Linked DNA regions of Homo sapiens: all the other regions are linked to region 2. The links are contacts of gene promoters, found by promoter capture Hi-C in human tissues and cell types (Jung and others, 2019). All regions are on one chromosome and are shown on one strand. Each heading gives the region's core, a stretch centred on a gene start or on the middle of the fragment in contact. The rest is flanking DNA. Distances are from core to core; before and after follow the strand shown.

Region 1 (2,809 bases), core at 10-2,509, 360 kb before region 2:
AAAAACTCAAGTATATGACTTGCTAATACTTACTTCCAATGTCATTTCTACTATATTGAGAGTTAAATGTAAGTGTCCTTGGGCAGAAAGAGAGGACCTCAGCTTGGACAAGAGTCTGCCCTTTACTAGCTACATAACATCACACATTAAATTGTTCTCAGCTGAAAAAATGGAGGTAATAACACACGACCATCTGTTTTGAGAATCAAATTGGATAATACCTATGGTATGTGATATGTGTGTAAATCTCATATCAGGAATGCTTTCATATAAAACAAAACACCATATGAGATGAGGATGGTTCAGAGTTTATTCAGAAACATATAGCTAAGAATCTCTGCTGGTAGCAGAAACATAACCCAAAGTTATGAAAAGAAGAAAGAAGGATACAAGAACCATGAGGAGGATATTGAAAACAAAAATATGATTGCAAAGATTATTGATCAGTTGCAGAAACCTAAATTCCTTAGAAGCAGAGAATGAAGCTCTTGACTTTTGAGTCAAAGCTGAGACCATGACTCAAAATTGAGAACACACGAAGCTGGCACATGATCCACAAAGTGTAAGGAAAAAGAGAATCAGGATGAAGTATTCTGCCCTCCCTCAAGTAGATTCCCAAGATTTTAAACAGGTAGAGAATTCATAAAAATTTGGGTGAGAGCATGGTGGCTGTCAGCAGCAAATTAAATTAGTCCCCCAAAAGATAAGTCAGTTGAGCAGAAAGTTGTTGTGTGAGGATGGTGGTTCTCTTGGGACTTGATCAGCAGCAAAAAGGCTGACAGCAGCTGGACACACAGGTGGGCTGGAAGCAAGTGGTCTCACAGCAGGCTGGGCGGCAGCAGGGCTGGCAGCAGTTGGAGCCACAGCTCTGGTTTAGGCAACCAGGCAGGCAGACAGTTGTGGGGTAGTAGCAGGTTCTTCTGCAGTACACAGGTGCACAGGAGCTGCTCTGGTCACAGCTGGACCCACAGCAGGTGGGCTGGCAGCAGGGTGTGCTGCAGCAGGAAGGCTGGCAGCAGCTGGTCACACAGGTGGGCTGGCAGCAGGTGTTTTGACAGCAAGTTGGGCGGCAGCAAGGCTGGCAGCAGCTGGAAACACAGCAGGAGGGCTGGCAGCAGGGTGTGCTGCTGCAGGTGGTCACAGTGGTGGGCTTCCAGCAGGTGGTCCTGCAGCAGGTGGTCCTGCAGCATGTAGGCTGACAGCAAGGGGAGCAACAGTGGGTCATGGTGTCAGGGGTAGAGGGTGGGCTTCTGTTCAGAGGTGAGTTTCCCAGAATCTGATGACCCCTTGCAATCTGGACCTTTTATACACCTGGCCTCCAAAGTTTCCACCAATCAGCAGGACTTTTCCTTGTTTCCGTTTACATTGTTTTCCCAGTCCGTTTGTGATTCTCAAAGGGTAGTTGTTTCCTTAAGGTTAAACAGATTAAGGTTTAATCTGTTTCTTAATTGTGAATTACTCATAGACACTTTGTTTCAGATAAAAGGAAGGCAATCTCATCATCAGCATCATTCCTGTTCTGACCATCATCTGGTCATGTGATAGTTCCTGTTGATCTGGGAGGCTCAGGAAGTTCTCTCTGGCCAGCCTCATGTTTGGCTGTATGTAGACTGGGAAGTGTCTGTGGGGAGAAGCATGATGCTGATATATTTACAGTGACAAAATGAATCCATGCCTGGGCCCAAGACTAGTCACCCACCAAATTCTGACTCAAGACTAGCAGGCATCTCTCTGTGCAACCCACACCACCTGTCTTTCAGTTCTTTGAACATCACTTGGGAAGAGGGTGTTTGTCACAGTGTGTTCCATGTGGCAGAGCAGATCGAGAGCAGGTGGATGCAGATAAATCCACTGGGATTTAGACAGCATCAAGTAATCTATGCCCTGAGTGACCATTCATTCTGACTTGTCTGTGAGCGTGGCGATTCCAGAATGAGAATGTAGGACTCTCTATGGCATAAATGCTTGAGATTCAGGCCAACCAGCATGTGCTGTGGCTCTAGTCGCAACCCGGTTACTAGCACAGTAAGCAGCATGTCTTCTCTCTCTCTCTCTATTTCTTTTTAATGAAGGAATTAGATGAGTTGAGATGATGCCTGATTCATCATGGAGTTCTAACATGTTTAAAACATTTTCTAGGTATACCATTCATTTGAGAAGAATGCAAATTATTAATTTTCAACTTGATATAGTATTATATTGTAAATACATCTGTGTCCCCATTACATCTATGTTAGGAAATAGAAATTAATTCCATTCTCTCCCAATTATATGCTCTTACTCATTCCCAAAGACAGCTAATCACTCTATCAGTTGTAATCCTGTAGGTAATTTTTGGTTTTTTAAAGTTTTCATGTGAATAAAAAGTATAGTATTTGCTTCTCTATTTCTTTGGCATAAACAAAAGTAATCTTTATCGCCTAGTCATTTTGGACTCTTCATATAAGCAAAGCAGCAGACAGAGAAAGTAGTTACTATTTGGTGAGGGATAATTACCCTCAAGCCATATAGTGTAGCAGAATATATCTATAGCTCAGGAGATTTACTGAGTATATTAATTTACTAGCACTGCCCTGATGAATTACTGAAAAAAAGTGGCTTAAATTTATTTATCAAAGTTCTGAAGGCCTCTTTTCTGAAATTAAGGTGTTGGCAATGTTGTTTTCATCTGAAGACTGCGAGGGAAGTATCTGTTCCACGTCTCTCTCCCTGACGTGTCAAAGTCTATCATCTCCAAGTGTGTTTGACATAATTTTTCTATTATATCCATACTGTCTCTGAATTTCTCCCTTGTGAATAGACACAGTCA
Region 2 (2,845 bases), core at 160-2,659:
TTCAGAACAACAGCAACAACAAATAAGCCACTAAAATAAGACAATTAAATTCCAATTTTTTTTGCATTTACTTGCTTGCTTAATTATATACAAATCTCAATTCCATTAAAGTATCAGGATGACAATTAATTAGATGTTTTTAGTGACTTTTCCAATCCCTTCTAATTAACTTGGAAGTGATTAACTGATTATCTAATTATATTAATTAGTGATTATCTAATTAACTAAGGAAGTGATTTACATGCTTCATGGGAAGTGTGAATTCTCAGCCAGGGGGTTTGAATGAAGGGAAGCAAGTGACTCAGGCATTTATTGGTTGCTTACAATCAGATTCCCACCGATGAGATCATGCCCATGTGTCTAGAGGTCCACACACAAGCAGCTGCCTCCAGCCCAACCCTGGAAGCTGAGTGTAGTCCCAAGTCCCCGCCTGCACCCCTTCCTATATAAACAGCCACTCTCGCTGTGATTATGGGGGCATACAAGGAAGATCAGGCTTCCATGGAAGCTTCTGCAACTGAAATCCACTGGGGACTTTAGAAGGAGCACCTGTAAGTAGCTTCAGGATGGATGGGGCAGAGTCTGTCTCATGGTGGGTGTTAAGCTGGCCTCATACAAAAGAGGAGACCCATCCTGATACCATGCCAGGTACAAAGCACTGTGTGATTTATTCTAAGTGTCTTGGTAACAGGACTTGAAGCCAGGTGGTGACTGGAAACCTAAAATGCAATATTTAGTCATAGAACATTAGAAATAGAAAGAAAATAACCTCCCAAATCATCTAATCCATCACTCAGCTAAATTCATTTAATTCACATCCCCAAACTACATCTCCAAATGTACAATGGTTTCATTCCTGGTTTAGGGATTCGAGGTTTTGTGTTTGTACAAAATATTTTAATAGTCTTATAAAATAAGATGTCCAAAACACAATAAACTTAAAAGCCAAACACAAGCAAAGCATGAAACAGAGGTTCTGAAGAGCAACTCCTCAATACAAATCAAACATTGTCCTTTATCTCCATTGTGACTTTCAGTTATGTAGGCACATCTGCCTTTTTAGATACCTAAATTATACATGAGGATTGTAAATATTCTTTGTGTGTATGTTAGGATGAAAAAAACCTGCCAAGGCAGGCGCATGGGCTAAAAGAATACACTTTCCTGTTTCCTTTTATTACCTGTTTAATTAAAAAAAAAAAAAAGTTGCCCCTGATAAAAGCCTCCAAGAAATGCCTCTAGTGGTATTTTCTGGAATTGAATTAAGCATATTAACATATTGCTATACAAAGCGGGGGGCGTGGAAGTAAGGCAAGGTGGACTGTGGTGCCAATCCTAGTGACATGTCAGCAGAGGAGGAGTTTCTTGCCTGTGGACTTCATAAAAGGCTAGCTCAACACCCTCCATGAGACACACTCTGCCCCAACCATCCTGAAGCTACAGGTGCTCCCTCCTGGAATCTCCAATGGATTTCAGTCGCAGAAGCTTCCACAGAAGCCTGAGCTCCTCCTTGCAGGCCCCTGTAGTCAGTACAGTGGGCATGCAGCGCCTCGGGACGACACCCAGCGTTTATGGGGGTGCTGGAGGCCGGGGCATCCGCATCTCCAACTCCAGACACACGGTGAACTATGGGAGCGATCTCACAGGCGGCGGGGACCTGTTTGTTGGCAATGAGAAAATGGCCATGCAGAACCTAAATGACCGTCTAGCGAGCTACCTAGAAAAGGTGCGGACCCTGGAGCAGTCCAACTCCAAACTTGAAGTGCAAATCAAGCAGTGGTACGAAACCAACGCCCCGAGGGCTGGTCGCGACTACAGTGCATATTACAGACAAATTGAAGAGCTGCGAAGTCAGGTGAGAGATGATGCTTGTGTTTCCTACTCTGTGTTTAGCTTCAAGATAAATCAAGAGGTTATCTATGTTAGGTAGGTCCAAATGGACTTTGTAAAGCAAATTAGGCTAAAATGTTACATCTATAAAAATTCTTTCATCTACCTTTAGTGCTGGAGTACCTGACTGTACAACAGGATGACCTTAAATCATGCTATTTTTAATGTTTAACACAATTACATACAAAATATGAACATTTTATCCTCCGGAATAAAATGAATCTTTGTCACAGCTTATCACATCAGGGCTAAATGTATAGTGAACAATCTTTCTGAAAAGAGCTAAAAATTAATTACGTGATAAATCTCTCTTAGTTTTTCACCTAGTCCTTATCAAGTTTTGAAACCCCAGTAAATTCAAAGACTTTTCTCCTTTTATTTAAGTAAATGTTATAATATGACTATTAGAATACTGTACTGCAGATTTAAATAGCAAAGTGATTCTGGGTGGAAACAGTGTGGCAGGAATATGGGTCTTAATGATGCCTGGATTTTTAAGTGCCCTGTTTAATAACATGACCATCAGCATCAAGCAGTTCAGAAACTACTTCTACAGTAATAAAATGTTCTATTGCCCCCAATTCATGTTTATTACAATCATATCACAACCTCCTCCTATGTCATCAAAAAAAGGGTGGAGCTCTGTATTTTATCAGTTTCATGGAATAAAAGCAGAAGACTTTGCTCCTAATTGAAAATTTCAGATATGACACAGAGCACTTGCTTCAAATTAAAGTTCTTATCTAATTAAGAAAAGTGTTCACTGTAATTTGTGTTAAGATTCATACTCCTTTAGAGCAAAGCGCATTTACTTACCAGCAAGTCTGTTTTTCTTGAGTTGTACTAAACATCAGGGCAATTTGATTCGGACTCCATGGGAAGTTACTTTGGAATTTTAGAAACTATGGGCATGTGAAGCAATGGCATTTAAATAGCCCTTCCGGAATAAAGTTCA
Region 3 (2,804 bases), core at 211-2,710, 330 kb before region 2:
CTCTGTCCAGATTTGTTCCCTTGCTGGTGAGGAGTTGTAATCCTTTGGAAGAGAAGAGGCATTCTGGTTTTTGGAATTTTCAGCCTTTTCTTGTGCTGGTTTTTCCTCATCTTCTTGGATTTATCCACCTTTGGTCTTTGATATTGGTAACCTTTGGATTGGGTTTTTGCGTGGGCATCCTTTTTGTTGATATTGATGCTGTTGCTTTCTGTTTGTTAGTTTTCCTTCTAACAGTCAGGCCCCTCTTCTGCAGGTCTGCTGGAGTTTGCTGAAGGTCCACTCCAGACCCTGTTTGCCTGGGTATTGCTGCCTGCTCCTTCCTCTGGAAGCTTTGTCCCAGGGGGCACCTGCCAGATGCCAGCCGGAGCTCTCCGCTATGAGGTGTCTGTTGACCCCTGCTGGGAGGAGTCAGGAGGCATGTGGGTCAGAGACCCACCTGAGGAGGCAGTCTGTCCCTTAGCAGAGCTTGAGCGCTGTGCTGGGAGAACAGTCGATCTCTTCAGAGCCCGCAGGCAGGAACGTTTGAGTCTGCTGCTGAAGCTGTGCCCACAGCTGCCCCACCCCACAGGTGCTCTGTCCCAGGGAGATGGGAGTTTTATCTGTAAGCCCCTGAATGGGGCTGCTGCCTTTCTTTCAGAGATGACCTCCCGAGACAGGAGGAATATAGAGCGGCAGTCTGGCCACAGTGGCTTTGCTGTGCTGAGGTGGTTCCGCACCCAGTTCGAAATTCCCGGCAACTTTGTTTACACTGTGAGGGGAAAACTGCCTACTCAAGCTTTGGCAGTGGTGGGCGCCCCTCCCCGCACCAAGCTCGAGTGTCCCAGGTCGACTTCAGACTGCTGTGCTGCCAGCGAGAATTTCAAGCCAGTGAATTTTAGCTTGTTGGGTGCCTTGGGGGTGGGATCTGCTGAACAAGACCACTCGGCTCCCTGGCTTCAGCCCCTTTCCAGGGTAGTGAACAGTTTTGTGCCGCTGGCATTCCAGGCACCACTAGGATATGAAAACAACAACAACAACAACAAAGCAAAACAAAAACACAAAACTCCTACAGCTAGCTTGGTGTTTGCCCAAACAGCCACCCAGTTTTGTGCTTGAAGCCCAGGGCCGTGGTGGTGTAGGCACCCGAGGGAATCTCCTGGTCTGTGAGTTGTGAAGACCATAGAAAAGCATAGTAGCTGGACCAGATAGCACCATCCCCAGAAATACCATTTGATTCAGCAATCCCTTTACTGGATATATACCCAAAGGAATAGAAATCATTCTATCATAAAGATACATGCATGCATATGTTCACTGCAGCACTACTCACAATAGCAAAGACATGGAACCAACCCAAATGCCCATCAAGAGTAGACTGGATAAAGAAAATATGATACATGTACACAATGGAATACTATGCAGCCATAAAAAGGAACTGGATCATGTCCTTTGTAGGGACATGGATGGAGCTAGAAGCTGTTATTCTCAGCAAACTAACACAGGAACAGAAAACCAAAATGACATGTTTTCATTTATAAGTGGGAGCTGAATGATGGGAACACATGGACAAACGTTGGGGTGGGAGAACAACACATACTGGGGCCTGTTGCAGGCAATGAGAGGGAGGGCATCAGGAAGAACAGTTAATGGGTTCTGGGCTTAATACTTGGGTGATGGGTTGATCTGTGTAGCAAACCACCATGGCACATTTACCTATGTAACAAACCTGCACATCCTGCACACGTATCCCAGAACTTAAAATAAAAGTTGATAAAATAAAAAATAAATAATTTAAAAAATTTTTTAAAATTTCTGGAGACAGATGATGGTTGTCTAACAACATGAGTGTACTTACTTCCACTGAACTGTATATGTAAAAATGATTATAATTGTGGTTGGGCACGGTGGCTCACACCTGTAATCCCAACACTTTGAGAGGCTGAGGCAGGTGGATCACGAGGTAAGGTATTTGAGACCAATCTGGCCAACATAGTGAAACCCCATCTCTACTAAAACTACAAAAAATTAACCAGGCATGGTGGCACATGCCTGTAGTCCCAGCTACTCGGGAGGCTGAGGCAGGAGGATCGCTCGAACCTGGAAGGCGGAGGTTGCAGTGAGCTGAGAACGTGCCACTGCACTCCAGCCTGGGTGACAGAGCAAAATTCCATCTCAAAAATAAATAAATAAATAAAGATTATAATTGTAAATTTTATGTGTATTTTACCACAATAAAAAAACAGTAAGCCAGGAATAAAAAGTTTTGATGTGAAAACAAATTATCTCTCAAAGTTTGGGTGCAAATGAAATGTGGCCTAAGTTTTTTGGGCCATGACTTAATCTTCTATTACCATTTATTTAGGTGACCAGAAGAATGAGGACAAACAGAATGCCAATTCCATTATTTCAACAAACAAGTATTTCTAGATGAGCCTCTCACACCAAAGTCCCAGGACAGAGGCAGGAACACAATGGGTGCTCAAAAATATTTAAAGAACTTCACCAGTGCCTGACAAGAGACTGAGAATATAAAATGTTCACATGATTCACGAGGGCTCTTAAAACGAGTTGTTGCTCTTAAGATGTGGCTATTGGTTAGGGGAATGAATTTGGAAAGAACTTTGTTAGTAGAAAATGGTCTGCAAATGCGTGGAATTGGTGTTTCCATTGTCAGAGAACAACTTCGAGTGCACCCCTTCCCGGTTCTAAGTCCTTAGTATAATTCTGTAAATGTGACATCAGTAGAGGTGAAATCAGAAACCCTGAGCCTAGAGCCAATTCTGTCCATCCTTAGCTACATGACACGATGCAGGCCACTTTACTCA

What was found. Contacts are between HindIII fragments. The study calls those that stand out against the background at their distance.
Region 1: a contact is called between the fragment with the promoter of KRTAP9-4 here and the fragment with the promoter of KRT20 in region 2, in 3 of the 25 tissues and cell types used here (H1 embryonic stem cells, IMR-90 fibroblasts and mesenchymal stem cells).
Region 3: a contact is called between a fragment that was not itself captured here and the fragment with the promoter of KRT20 in region 2, in 2 of the 25 tissues and cell types used here (mesenchymal stem cells and spleen).

The regions. Positions count from the first base shown.
Region 1 is chr17:41,248,137-41,250,945 of GRCh38, reverse strand. It overlaps KRTAP9-4 (keratin associated protein 9-4), which reads right to left and starts at 1,259. Exons shown (of 1, transcript NM_033191.3): 1 at 293-1,259. The coding sequence starts at 1,225. The coding sequence ends at 761. RefSeq lists an enhancer at 978-1,532. The HindIII fragment of the contact is 7,447 bases long and covers 1-2,809 here.
Region 2 is chr17:40,883,806-40,886,650 of GRCh38, reverse strand. KRT20 (keratin 20) reads left to right here and starts at 1,409. Exons shown (of 8, transcript NM_019010.3): 1 at 1,409-1,855. The coding sequence starts at 1,466. The region is part of intron 1 of LOC105371777 (a long non-coding RNA gene); the gene reads right to left. The HindIII fragment of the contact is 3,526 bases long and covers 998-2,845 here.
Region 3 is chr17:41,214,477-41,217,280 of GRCh38, reverse strand. No RefSeq gene overlaps it. Among named protein-coding and RNA genes, the nearest start is that of KRTAP9-2, 11 kb to the left of the region's middle. The HindIII fragment of the contact is 7,634 bases long and covers 1-2,804 here.